4 separate regions of the Homo sapiens genome follow, and regions 2, 3 and 4 are each linked to region 1. Evidence: promoter capture Hi-C in 16 types of primary human blood cells and fetal thymus (Javierre and others, 2016). All regions are on one chromosome and are shown on one strand. Each heading gives the region's core, a stretch centred on a gene start or on the middle of the fragment in contact. The rest is flanking DNA. Distances are from core to core; before and after follow the strand shown.

What was found. The method cuts DNA at HindIII sites, captures the fragments that hold promoters and counts their contacts. A CHiCAGO score of 5 or more calls a contact.
Region 2: a contact is called between a fragment that was not itself captured here and the fragment with the promoter of SLC17A4 in region 1, in 1 of 17 cell types (naive CD8 T cells). The highest score is 5.1, in naive CD8 T cells.
Region 3: a fragment that was not itself captured here is called in contact with the fragment with the promoter of SLC17A4 in region 1 in 2 of 17 cell types (naive B cells and total B cells); the score reaches 5.4 in naive B cells.
Region 4: a fragment that was not itself captured here is called in contact with the fragment with the promoter of SLC17A4 in region 1 in 3 of 17 cell types (total CD8 T cells, naive CD8 T cells and M1 macrophages); the score reaches 7.2 in total CD8 T cells.

The regions. Positions count from the first base shown.
Region 1 is chr6:25,753,309-25,756,150 of GRCh38, reverse strand. SLC17A4 (solute carrier family 17 member 4) reads right to left here and starts at 1,409. Exons shown (of 12, transcript NM_005495.3): 1 at 1,370-1,409. It also overlaps a transcript of SLC17A1 not described here. The HindIII fragment of the contact is 7,086 bases long and covers 1-2,842 here.
Region 2 is chr6:25,934,862-25,937,561 of GRCh38, reverse strand. No RefSeq gene overlaps it. Among named protein-coding and RNA genes, the nearest start is that of SLC17A2, 5.5 kb to the right of the region's middle. The HindIII fragment of the contact is 1,070 bases long and covers 853-1,922 here.
Region 3 is chr6:25,954,178-25,956,877 of GRCh38, reverse strand. No RefSeq gene overlaps it. Among named protein-coding and RNA genes, the nearest start is that of TRIM38, 7.3 kb to the left of the region's middle. The HindIII fragment of the contact is 3,225 bases long and covers 1-2,700 here.
Region 4 is chr6:25,898,047-25,900,786 of GRCh38, reverse strand. No RefSeq gene overlaps it. Among named protein-coding and RNA genes, the nearest start is that of SLC17A3, 25 kb to the right of the region's middle. RefSeq lists an enhancer at 2,082-2,671. The HindIII fragment of the contact is 699 bases long and covers 953-1,651 here.

The DNA.
Region 1 (2,842 bases), core at 160-2,659:
TCCTATAGGCCTGGTAAGGGGACTGGATCTACTATGGCCACTGTGTGGCACATGGGCTGTAAAGGACAAGATTGAGAACCAAGAGACTGAACAAGAAGTTGTTTCTTCACCTGTACAAGTGTTGATGGTGGATGGGCTAGGCTAGTTGTGGTGAAAAAGACCACATTCAGGACCTGTTTTGGAGATATGCCACTAAGACTTGCTAATGAGGTGTATATGGGAATGAGAGAAAGGGAAGAATCATCAGAGACTTCTAGACTTACGGCTTGAGCAAATGAGTGAATAGTGTTGCACTCAAAGAAGTTGGCGAAATGAGCAGGGAGGGCAACAGGTTCCAGAGGAAAAGCAAGAACTTTATTTTGGACACTTGGGGTTGAGACTCCTGTTAGACCCAGAAGGGAAGATTGACAGGTAAGTTTTGTGTCTGTGAGTCCATAGCTAAGAACAGAAGGGCCTTTGTAGAAATATAAATGTGTGAGTCATCAGCCTTATCTATTTATTTTGAAACCAGGTAAATGAGGAAAAAACAGCAAAGAAATGGAGCCAGCCATTCTTATATCAATTTCTCATCAGTTTTTCTTGCCAAGACTGCTTGTGTCTGTTCTTTTTGGATTCATATGCACCCTGTTCCTCTGCTAGTTATCAGTCCACTGTAGAATGAGACTTTTCCTTAAGGTGCTGGGCAGAGCTATTAACAGCTCAAATGTCATCTTAGGTGGTCTCAGCACTGAACATTTTTCCTCCTTATGAGAAACAGCCCATGGCTCTTATTCACAGTTTGCAAATAAAGTCCTCTGCCCTAAACTCTTCATCATTAACTACTTCCCAAAGCCATATTAGATTTCATTTATTTTGCTTTCCCATAAATTCGCTGGAACCAAACCAGAACCGTTTGGTTTTCATTAATTTTTTAGGCATGATGAAAATCTTCCTCTCTGAGAATTCAGTATTGGCATTTATTGTCTCACTGTGGATTTGATCAATGCTTAAAAAAATTAATGTACTTCACAAAAACAATCCAAATATATCATTTAGTTTCTGTCTCTTCCTCTCTCTCTTTCTTCCTCTGTGTGTGTGTGTGTGTGTGTGTGTGTGTGTGTGTATGTGTGTGTGTCTGTCTGTCTGTCTCTGTTCAGCTATACTTTTAGAAAATTTCATTCTCTTGAATTAATTCCCTGTAGTTCCAGGGCTCTTAATGCAACATCCCTTCTCACTTACCAGAATTATCTCAGGACACAGGCATTCTCTTCTCCACTCCCACAATCTCTGCCCCTAAACAGCAAATTAAGCTGCTCTCTAACAGAAACAGACCCATTCCCATCATCTCAAAAGCAGAATATTAAGGGTAAAAGTTTGAAAGCTAACTAACCTGAGGGAGGAAGAGTGCAGGATCCTCATTCCTTTCAAATAAATATTCTAAGCTCTTTGCAATTGTCTAATTCTGGGAGGTAAATAATTACCCAAAACCTTTAGCCCTTATGTTACCAGCTTGGAGAATTTTATTGGCCCAGTGGTTTAATTTTTAACTTTACATTTTATTGTTTGATTGATAATCAAATCAAGCTCATTAAATCTTCCTCATGCTTCAAGCCCAGCTGAGGTCACCTATGTCTTCCCTCATCCTTAATCAGAATCAATGTCCCTTCTTATAAGGATCCTGACACCCCACATGTTTCACTGACAGCACTATCCCCTTCTGGGGTCTCTCAGAGTTATTATAATCTTCATGGAGATGGGGTATATTTTGCCCCTTTTGAGTCCCTTTTCCACCATCCTGCTGTTTAATAGAACTGAGCTTTCCAAAGAGGAGAGACTTAATACATTTTGGTCGACTTGAGTGATTTTTATGGTTTTCTGATTGTAATTTTTTGCACAAAGGCCATTGAGTTTTCCATGAAAATTAACTCTGTGATTCTCCTCCCTTTTATGGCAAAACATTTCAGAAGACTCATACATATTTGCATTCTGGTTCCCCACCTCTAGTTTTCTCATGAATCCATCAGCAACAAGACAGCCCTTAGCAAAGCCATCACCAGCCTCTCTGCCAGCAAATCCAGTGGTCACATCCCAGGCCCCATCTGTCAGTGCTTGACAGATTCCACCACTCGTTCCTTCTTGATGCCTTGTTTCATTTAATTCATTCAGATCTGATTTTCCTCGTGTCTCATTGGTTGTTCCTTGTCAATACGTTTTGCTGAATCCTTATCTTTTCTCTGGTTTCTAATGTTGATATGCCTAAGACTCTGTCCTTGAACTTCCTCCCTATCTAAACTCACTCCCAAGGAGATCTCAGCCAGTCCCCTTTCCTTTCACACCCAATTCTGACCTCTTCTCTGAGCTTCGACTTCAACTTCATCCATCTCTCCTTGAGTACCCATTAGGTATCTCAGTCTTATGACTGCAAGCAGAACTGAATCTCCCTCCAACCCTACTCCTGGCCCAGGATCCCCCATCTTGGTTAATGGCATTACCATTTCCCTGTTAATCTTGCCAAAAAAAAGTCAGCCTTCATTCTATACTTTCCATCAACATTAATTCCAACAGTATGTTCTATCAGTTCCACCTTCATCTCTTTCCATTATTTTTTATTTTCTCCATTCCTATCACAATCATCTATCACCAGGGTAAATAAAATGATTATTTACCGGGCCCCACTGTTTCCATTCTCTCTCTTTTAATCCACCCCACATAGCAGGCAGAATGTTGGAAATGTACATATGATCATGTTACTTACTGGTGTAAAAGTCTTCCAAAGCCTTCCCAGAGAACCTAGGAGAAAAGAGAGCAAATTCACCTTCCTGAAGGTGCTCCAACACCTTACATCACCTTGGACACACCAACC
Region 2 (2,700 bases), core at 138-2,637, 180 kb before region 1:
AATCAATCTGTTCTCCCACCTCAGCATCCTGAGTAGCTGGGACCACAAGTGTGTGCCATCACACCTGCCTAAAAAACAAACAAACGAAAAAAAACCCCCAGAGAACTTTGTAGAGACAAGCTGGTCTGGAACTCCTGCGCTCAAGCAATTCTCCTGCCTTAGCCTAAAAGTTCTGGGATTATAGGTATAAGCCACCATACCTGGCATATGGCAAGTCTTGAGCAGGACAAATACAGATGATTTATGTCTGTCTTCCATGGTATTCTAGGTTATTGTTGAGATGGTCCTCTATTGTCTTGTTCCATCTATTGATTAGATAAAACGTTGTTCCTTCTGTTATTTTTCAACAGTAGCTTTTATGTGTCTCTCTTTATCTTAAAATTCTAACCAAAGAGCTGCTCTTTTCTTGGTGTACTTTACCTTTGGTTGATCCTTCTTAACCTCTTCTTGCCCTCTGGGGCCTAAGATGAGGGCTGTTATCAGATGTGAGTCTATGGGAAAGCAAGCAAGAGGTTCTTCAGCCTCCGTTCAGCCTTAAATGTCTAGGTAGAAATCAGTCATGGCCCTTCCAATGTGGTACAGACCAGATCACAGAGACAGGGGTCTCAGCCAAGGTCTTGTGGCCTAAGCCTTATAGAAATAATGAGTGTTTACTTACTTGGAGAACTCCCTTGGAATATCTTTTTTTGTGAACCTGAGGCAACTTTTGGTGATTTCTTGATGTCTTGGGAATCTTGGTCTAGAGCCATTTCAACCCGATTTCTTTTCATGTCAGTGGCATTTTGTGACCAGATAGTAAATAAGTTCTATGATGTTCACTCAGAGAAATACAATGACTTATGATGCGAAGCTTCTGTGGTTCAGCCCTTACTTCATCTTCATTCCCTCTTATCTGCATCTGTCTCCTGCTTGGGAACAAAAGTCTGGCTTCATTCTATGACCCCCACGTTGAGTTTCTTAGTAGCACTTACTTTTCAATTAGGAGTGTCCTCACTTCTATCCGTCAGACATAACTAGCCGACTAAACAGTCTAAATATAAAAATCATGTCCTACTCCTGCTGAAAACATTTTAATTACTCCCCATCATTTAATTTTTTCTACTGGGTTATCTTTAACTTCAGAGTTGGTCTTGTGTGCAACACAAGAAAACCTGGCATATACATGGATTCAAGTGTATGCCACGTGCATGTATTCCTTCATGTACTATTTCATGTATTCTTTTTCACATCTGTTTTTTCCTCTAAAATTTATTTCCTTTTAAAAATGAAAATTTTGCATTTGACTAAATTTGTCAAATTTAGTCAAATTTGTTTAAAACCATTTTTAAAATGTTTCCCGAAGTTTTGAGTGAAGTTAGTACTTCAGAAAAACTGTTTTGTATTTTTCCTGTGACCTCAGTGCACTGCTGTGCATTTCCATTTCTGCGTCCACACACATTTGTTTTGAGGAAATATAGGAACGACAAGATAAAGTTCAAGCTCCTGGACATTGCATAAAAGACCGTCATGACCTGGTCCTGTTGACTTCCCTAGATTTCCCGCTATTTCCTAAGTTGAGATTTTTGGTTTGGATGCTTTGTGTTTTCCTAAAATCAAAATAGGTTTTTGCCTTTTATGATTATACAGTAAATAAATGCTATTTGTGTGAAACTTTAAACAATACAAAAAAAACCTAAGGAAGAAAGTCAGATTCATCTAAAAATCCTTGTGGCCAGAATTAACTACCTTAGTTACTATTTTCTCTATCTCTCTCTCTCAATGTATATTTGGTGTAGGTATAGGGGTGTGTGTAGTGTGTGTGTATGTATATATCTGTTTCTATTCCTGTATGTGGATGTGCACAACGCATCCTGCTTTGTACACTACAGTACTAGCATTTTTCTAATGTAATTCAATATTGTTGAAAACATTTTAAAAAAGCTTGTATATATACACACACATACACATACATGCATGTATGTACATATACACATACAGACAAAAATGTATCCTATGTATATTCACACATGTATACACACTCACACATACATAGAGTTTTACATCCATAGTTTATAAATGTTGCTTTTTTTTGGTCACCTTTTTGCTAAGTCTTACACTTTTTTTTTTTTTTTTTGAGACGGAGTTTTGTTGTCATTGCCCAGGCTTAGTGCAGTAGCGCGATCTCACCTCACTGCAACCTCGACCTCCCGGGTTCAAGCGGTTCTCCTGCCTTAGCCTCCTGAGTAGCTGGTACTACAGGTGTGCGCCACCATGCCTGGCTAATTTTTGTAGTTTTTTTATAGAGACGAGGTTTCACCATGTTGGCCAAGCTGGTCTGGAACTCCTGACCTCAAGTGATCTGCCTGCCTCAGATTCCCAAAGTTCTGGGATTACAGATGTGAGCCACTGCACCCGGCCAAGTCTTACACATCTTTTTTTTACCACTAAACTGTTTACCCAAACCTGATAACCCAAGTCAACAGCTATTATGGCTCACACAATCTTATGTAAACAAAGATACAGATATATAGAATTTTCTTGATTAATATTCAGAAAAAAATGGAGTCCCTTTATACGTCCTTAGTATCTGCTTTACTCATTTAAAAATGTATTACATTATATGAAAGTATTCAGGTCAAATGTTATAGATGTGATTCATTCTTTTTAACTGTGTTATTTTTCTGCAATGACTATGTATCACAAAGTACTCAGTCTTCCACT
Region 3 (2,700 bases), core at 91-2,590, 200 kb before region 1:
CTGGCATTAACATCAACACAGCTTTTAAGTCTGATAAGAAACATTTTACAACCTATTCTCTCTGAAGCCTGCTAGCTAAAAACTTCATCCCATAGTACAACTTTGGTCTTCACAACCTGTTATCACAACCTAGTGCTCCTTTCTATTAATCCCAAATCTTTATACAAACTCAACCAATTGTCATCACCTCCACCCCACTCCTCCGCTGCTTCCAGTTGTCCCGCCTCTCTGGACCAAACCAGTGTACATTTCTTAAACGTATTTGATTGATGTCCCATGCCTCCCTAAAATGTATAAAGCCAAGGTGCATCCCAACCACCTTGAGCGCTTGTTCTCAGGACCTCCTGAGGGCTGTGTCATGGGCCATGGTCACTCAAATTTGGCTCAGAATAAATCTCTTCAAATGTTTTACAGAGTTTGGCTCTTGTCATGACACAGATGACTGCTTCACTGAAGCCTGCTCTGGAAGTGAGTGGGGGTTTTGCAAGGATAATTTTCCCCGGATAGCCCCAGAAGCAGCTAGTAATAATACACTTAAAGGTAGCTAAAATGCATTGAACACTTGTTTTGTGCCAGACCTATGTCAACATTTGCTTTGTGCCAGGCTTATGCCAGTACTCCTGATTTGTTAATACATTCTAAATAAAAATTCTGGAGTTTCAAATATAATAACTGAAAAACAGAAAATAAATAAAAATATATAATAACTGAAATAAAAATTTACTAAGGCTGGGGATGGTGGCTCACTCACACCTGTAATCCTGTTACCGGAAAGGGGTCCGTCCAGATCCAGACCCCAAGAGAGGGTTCTTGGATCTCACACAAGAAAGAATTCGGGCGAGTCTGTAAAGTGAAAGCAAGTTTATTAAGAAAGTAGAGGAATAAAAGAACGGCTACTCCATAGGCAGAGCAGCTCTGAGGGCTGCTGGTCGCTCATTTTTATGGTTATTTCTTGATTATGTGCTAAACAAGGGGTGGATAATTCATGCCTCCATTTTTTAGACCATATAAAGTAACTTCCTGACGTTGCCATGGCATTCGTAAACTGTCGTGGCGCTGGTATGAGCATAGCAGTGAGGACGACCAGAGGTCACTCTCATCGCCATCTTGGATTTGGTGGGGAGCAGTGAGGATGACCAGAGGTCACTCTCATCGCCATCTTGGATTTGGTGGGGTTTAGCCAGCTTCTTTACTTTTTTCTTTTTTTTTTTTGCCCAGGCTGGAGTGCAGTGGCACGATCTCAGCTCACTGAAACCTCCAATTTCTGAGTTCAAGCGATTCTCGTGCCTCAGCCTCCCAAGTAGCTGGGATTACAGGCATGTGCCACCACACCCAGCTAATTTTTTATATTTTTAATAGAGACCGGGTTTCGCCATGTTGCCTACGCTGATCTCCAACTCCTGCGCTCAAGCCATCCAGCCACCTTAGCCTCCCAAAGTGCTGGGCTTATAGGTGTGAGCCACCCCACCTGGCCTAGCCGGCTTCTTTACTGCAACCTGTTTTATCAGCAAGGTCTTTATGACCTGTATTTTGTGCCCACTGCCTGCCTCATCCTGTGGCTTACAATGCCTAACTTACAGGGAATGCAGCCCAGCAGGACTCAGCCTTATTTCACCCAGCTCCTATTCAAGATGGAGTCTTTCTTGTTCAAATACCTCTGACAAGCCCAACACTTTGGGAGGATGACACAGGAGGATTGCTTTAGCCTAGGAGCTCAAGACCAGCCTGGGCAACACAGTGAGACCCCATCTCTAAAAAAAAAAATACAAAAAAATTAGCCAGGCATGATGGTGTGTGCCTGTAGTCCCTGCTACTCAGGAGGCTGAAGTGGGAAGATGGCTTCAGCCCAGGAATTCAAGGCTGCATTGTCAGAGGCATTTGAACCAGAATGACTCTATCTTGAATAGGCGCTGGATAAAATAAGGCTGACACCTGCTAGGCTGCATTTCCAGTATGTTAGGCATTCTTAGTCACAGGATGAGATAGGAAGTCAGCACAAGGTACACATCACAAAGACCTTGCTGATAAAATAGGTTGTGGTAAAGAAGTTGGCCAAAACCCATCAAAACCAACATGGCCACCAAAGGGACCTCTGGTTGTCTTCACTGCTCATTATATGTTAATTATAATGTATTAACATGCTAAAAGACACTCCTACCAGCATCATGACAGCTTACAAATACTGCGGCAATATCTGGACTTTACCTTATATGGTCTAAAAGGTGGAGGAACCCTCAATTTTGGGAATTGTCCACCCCTTTTTTGGAATGCTCATGAATAATCCACCCCTTGTTTAGCACATAATCCAGAAATAACTATAAGTATGCTTATTTGAGCAGACCACGCTGCTGTTCTGCCTACAGAGTAGCCATTCTTTTATTTCCTTACTTTCTTAATAAACCTGCTTTCACTTTACTGTATGGACTTGCCCTAAATTCTTTCTTGTGTGAGATCCAAGAACCCTCTCTTGGGGTCTGGATCAAGACCCCTTTCTGGTAACATCTTTCTGGTGACCACGAAGGGACAATACTGAGGAGACTCTGAAGCCAAAGGAAACAGACTACAGCACCAACTGGCTGACTTTGGGTAAGTGGTGGAGTCCCCGGGTAAAGGATAGGATTGGGTTAGAGGTGCAACTTAGGGGAGATAGGGTCTCTCCTAAGACAGAGAGGGTTTCAGTCCGCTCTTAATAAAGGGCAA
Region 4 (2,740 bases), core at 53-2,552, 140 kb before region 1:
AGGTAATGTTTCAGGTTTCTCTACTGCAAAGTGATTTTTTTCCCTTAATTTAGCCCACCTGAACTTATCAATTTTGTTTTCTTCCATGACTAATACTTTTGTTATTATAGCTAAAACTTCATTGGGGCCAAATCTTAGATCATGTAAATTTTCTTCTATATTTTATTCTAAAAGCTTGTAATGTTTGATACATTCTAAAAGATGTAATGTTTGATACATTACATCTAGTCCTTTGATTTATTTTTAGTTACTTTTGTATAAGGTGTGAGAGATGTCTCCAGTTTCACTTTATTAACACATTGTGGTGTTCCAGTACTATTTGTTGCTAAGACTATCTTTTTTCCATTGATTACCTTTGCCTTAGTTGGCAATATTTTTGTTGGTTTATTTCTAGACTGTTTATCTCATTCCACTGATTTGTGTCTATCTTTTTGACAAAACTGTTGATTACAGTAAGCTTTGAAATAGTTCATTTTTTGTGTCAACTTGACTGAGTCAGGGGATAACCAGCTATCTGGTTAAACATTATTTCTGGCTGTGTTTGTGAGCGTGTTTCTGGATGAGATTAGCCTTTGAATAGGTGATCCTAGTAAAGTAAACTGTCTTTCCCAGTGTGGATGGCATTATGCCACCTGATATTCAGGGTCTGAATAGAAGAAAAGGCAGAGGAAGGGGGAATTTGGGCCTTTTTTTCTGCCTCACTGCTTGAGCTGGGACATCTCATCTGGTCTCCTGCTCTTGAACTGGGATTTACATCATCAGTTCCTCTGGTTCTCAGGCCTTCAGATTCAGACTGAATCATACCACCAGCTTTCCTGGGTCTCCAGCTTGCAGATTACAGATCATGGGACTCCTCATCTTCCATAAATGCATGAGCCAATTCAGTCTATGTCCTTGAAAACTGCCCCACTGCAGATTAAGGCTTTTTTCCACTAGGTGAAATAAAGAAGCTTGTTAGACAGATTTCCCTTCATCCAGTGCCCTCTCCTCTTTAAGTTACAACACATTGGCTACACCTAAGTGCAGGGGTGGGGATGAGGGTATAGTCCTCTTGTTTGCTGAGAAGAGAACTGTATTGGGAAAGCTCTAGAAGTGTTTGATACATACATAAACAAGGCATGGTTTTTGCACTTAATTTCACATTACATTTTTCCCAGAAAAAAAGGAATGTATAGGCATCACGTAACTGTACTAGCTGGAGTCATTCTTCCTGATTATCAAAGGTAAACAGTTATTAATCCTATACCAAGATGTCAAGGAGAAGTACTTTTGGAACACAAGGAATTCTCTGGGAGTCCTTACTACTCTCAAGCCCAGTGAAAAAGTTAATGAAAAACTATAGTACCTTCCTATAAGCTGGATGACTAATTACCAGGCTCATTTAGGAATTTGCCTTACCAAGTAAAACATAAGGGCAGCTGAGGTGCTGACTGAAGACAAATGGAGCATAGAATAAGAGTAGTAAAGAATGCCAAAAATGCTGTCATGTATCCATTGACAAAAGGAGCTATAAAGCCTTTAGGTATTTTCACACTTGCTCTGTTACGTAAATGTATGTGTGTGTGTGTGTGTGTGTGTGTGTGTGATCGTTTATTTTTTCCTTCTTTCCCACTAAGATGTATTAATACTGATTAACACTATAAGTTAAGCTTATAGGATAGGCTATCAAAAAATGATTGTGACTGAGCTGAAAAGAACATTACTCAGGATGGATACAGTGAGTTTCAGATGTTTGTATTCTACTTGGGAGCTACAGACAATAAAAAAGTAAAAACATATACAGTTTGTCAGCTACTGATAAGTGCTATGGAAAAAATTAAAGAAGGAAACGGGGATAGGGTGGGATTAGGTGTGGTAGCCATTCTAACCTTGGTGCTGAAATCTATCAGTATTCTGTTCAGCGATCCACTGTCTGCTACCTGGCCATATCCCCCTGGGAAGTGTGAGCCACATTACTAGCTTCATGTGGTGAATTCTGACTGGTCCACACCAGTCATGTGGTCCCTTCTTCTGTAGCTGATTAGCTCAGGCAGCACCTGAGACTAGGCCAAGTTTTGGCAAATGAGACATAAGGGGGAGTTTTCTGGAAAGGCATTCCTTGATCTCCAAGAGAAACGCACTGTTTCTTCCTGCCTTTAACTTGTGTCTGCATGGACACTTGAAACTGTGACCAGCATGGGGGGTAAAGCCTGCTGTGAAGGAGAGCAGAGGCAAGAAGACTGAGGGCAGTGGAGCCAGAGCTCTGATCACCCTGCTCTGGAACCTTTCTGCCTTTGATGTCCTGTTTGGGGAGATAAGAAATTTATATAGTGTTTAAATTTGTTGAGTCAGCGTTTTCTGTACCTGCAGTCAAAAACATGCTGAGTGATTCAAGAAGTTGGTCAGAACTTCAAAAAATTATTATTCTACATTTTCCCCCAAGTTTTTCTGAGGAAAGAGAGTGCTTGGTAGGCAGGATAACCCTGGAAAGTGGCCATGGGGCTGAGGCGGGTTTTGGAGAAATGCAGACACTGTTGTCTGATGTGAGTTTCACCTGATGAGGGATCAGGATCTTCTTTCATATAATTTGGGAAAGCAGATGTTGGTCCCTTTAGATCTGTTAACTGACATTTAGCATTCAAAACTGTCTCGTGATTCACAGAAGTGTTGTAAGATATTATGCAGATTTTAGCACAGCATTCAACCATTCAATCAGATTTTTATAAAGACTTTTTTTTTTTTTTTTTTTTTTTTTTTTTGA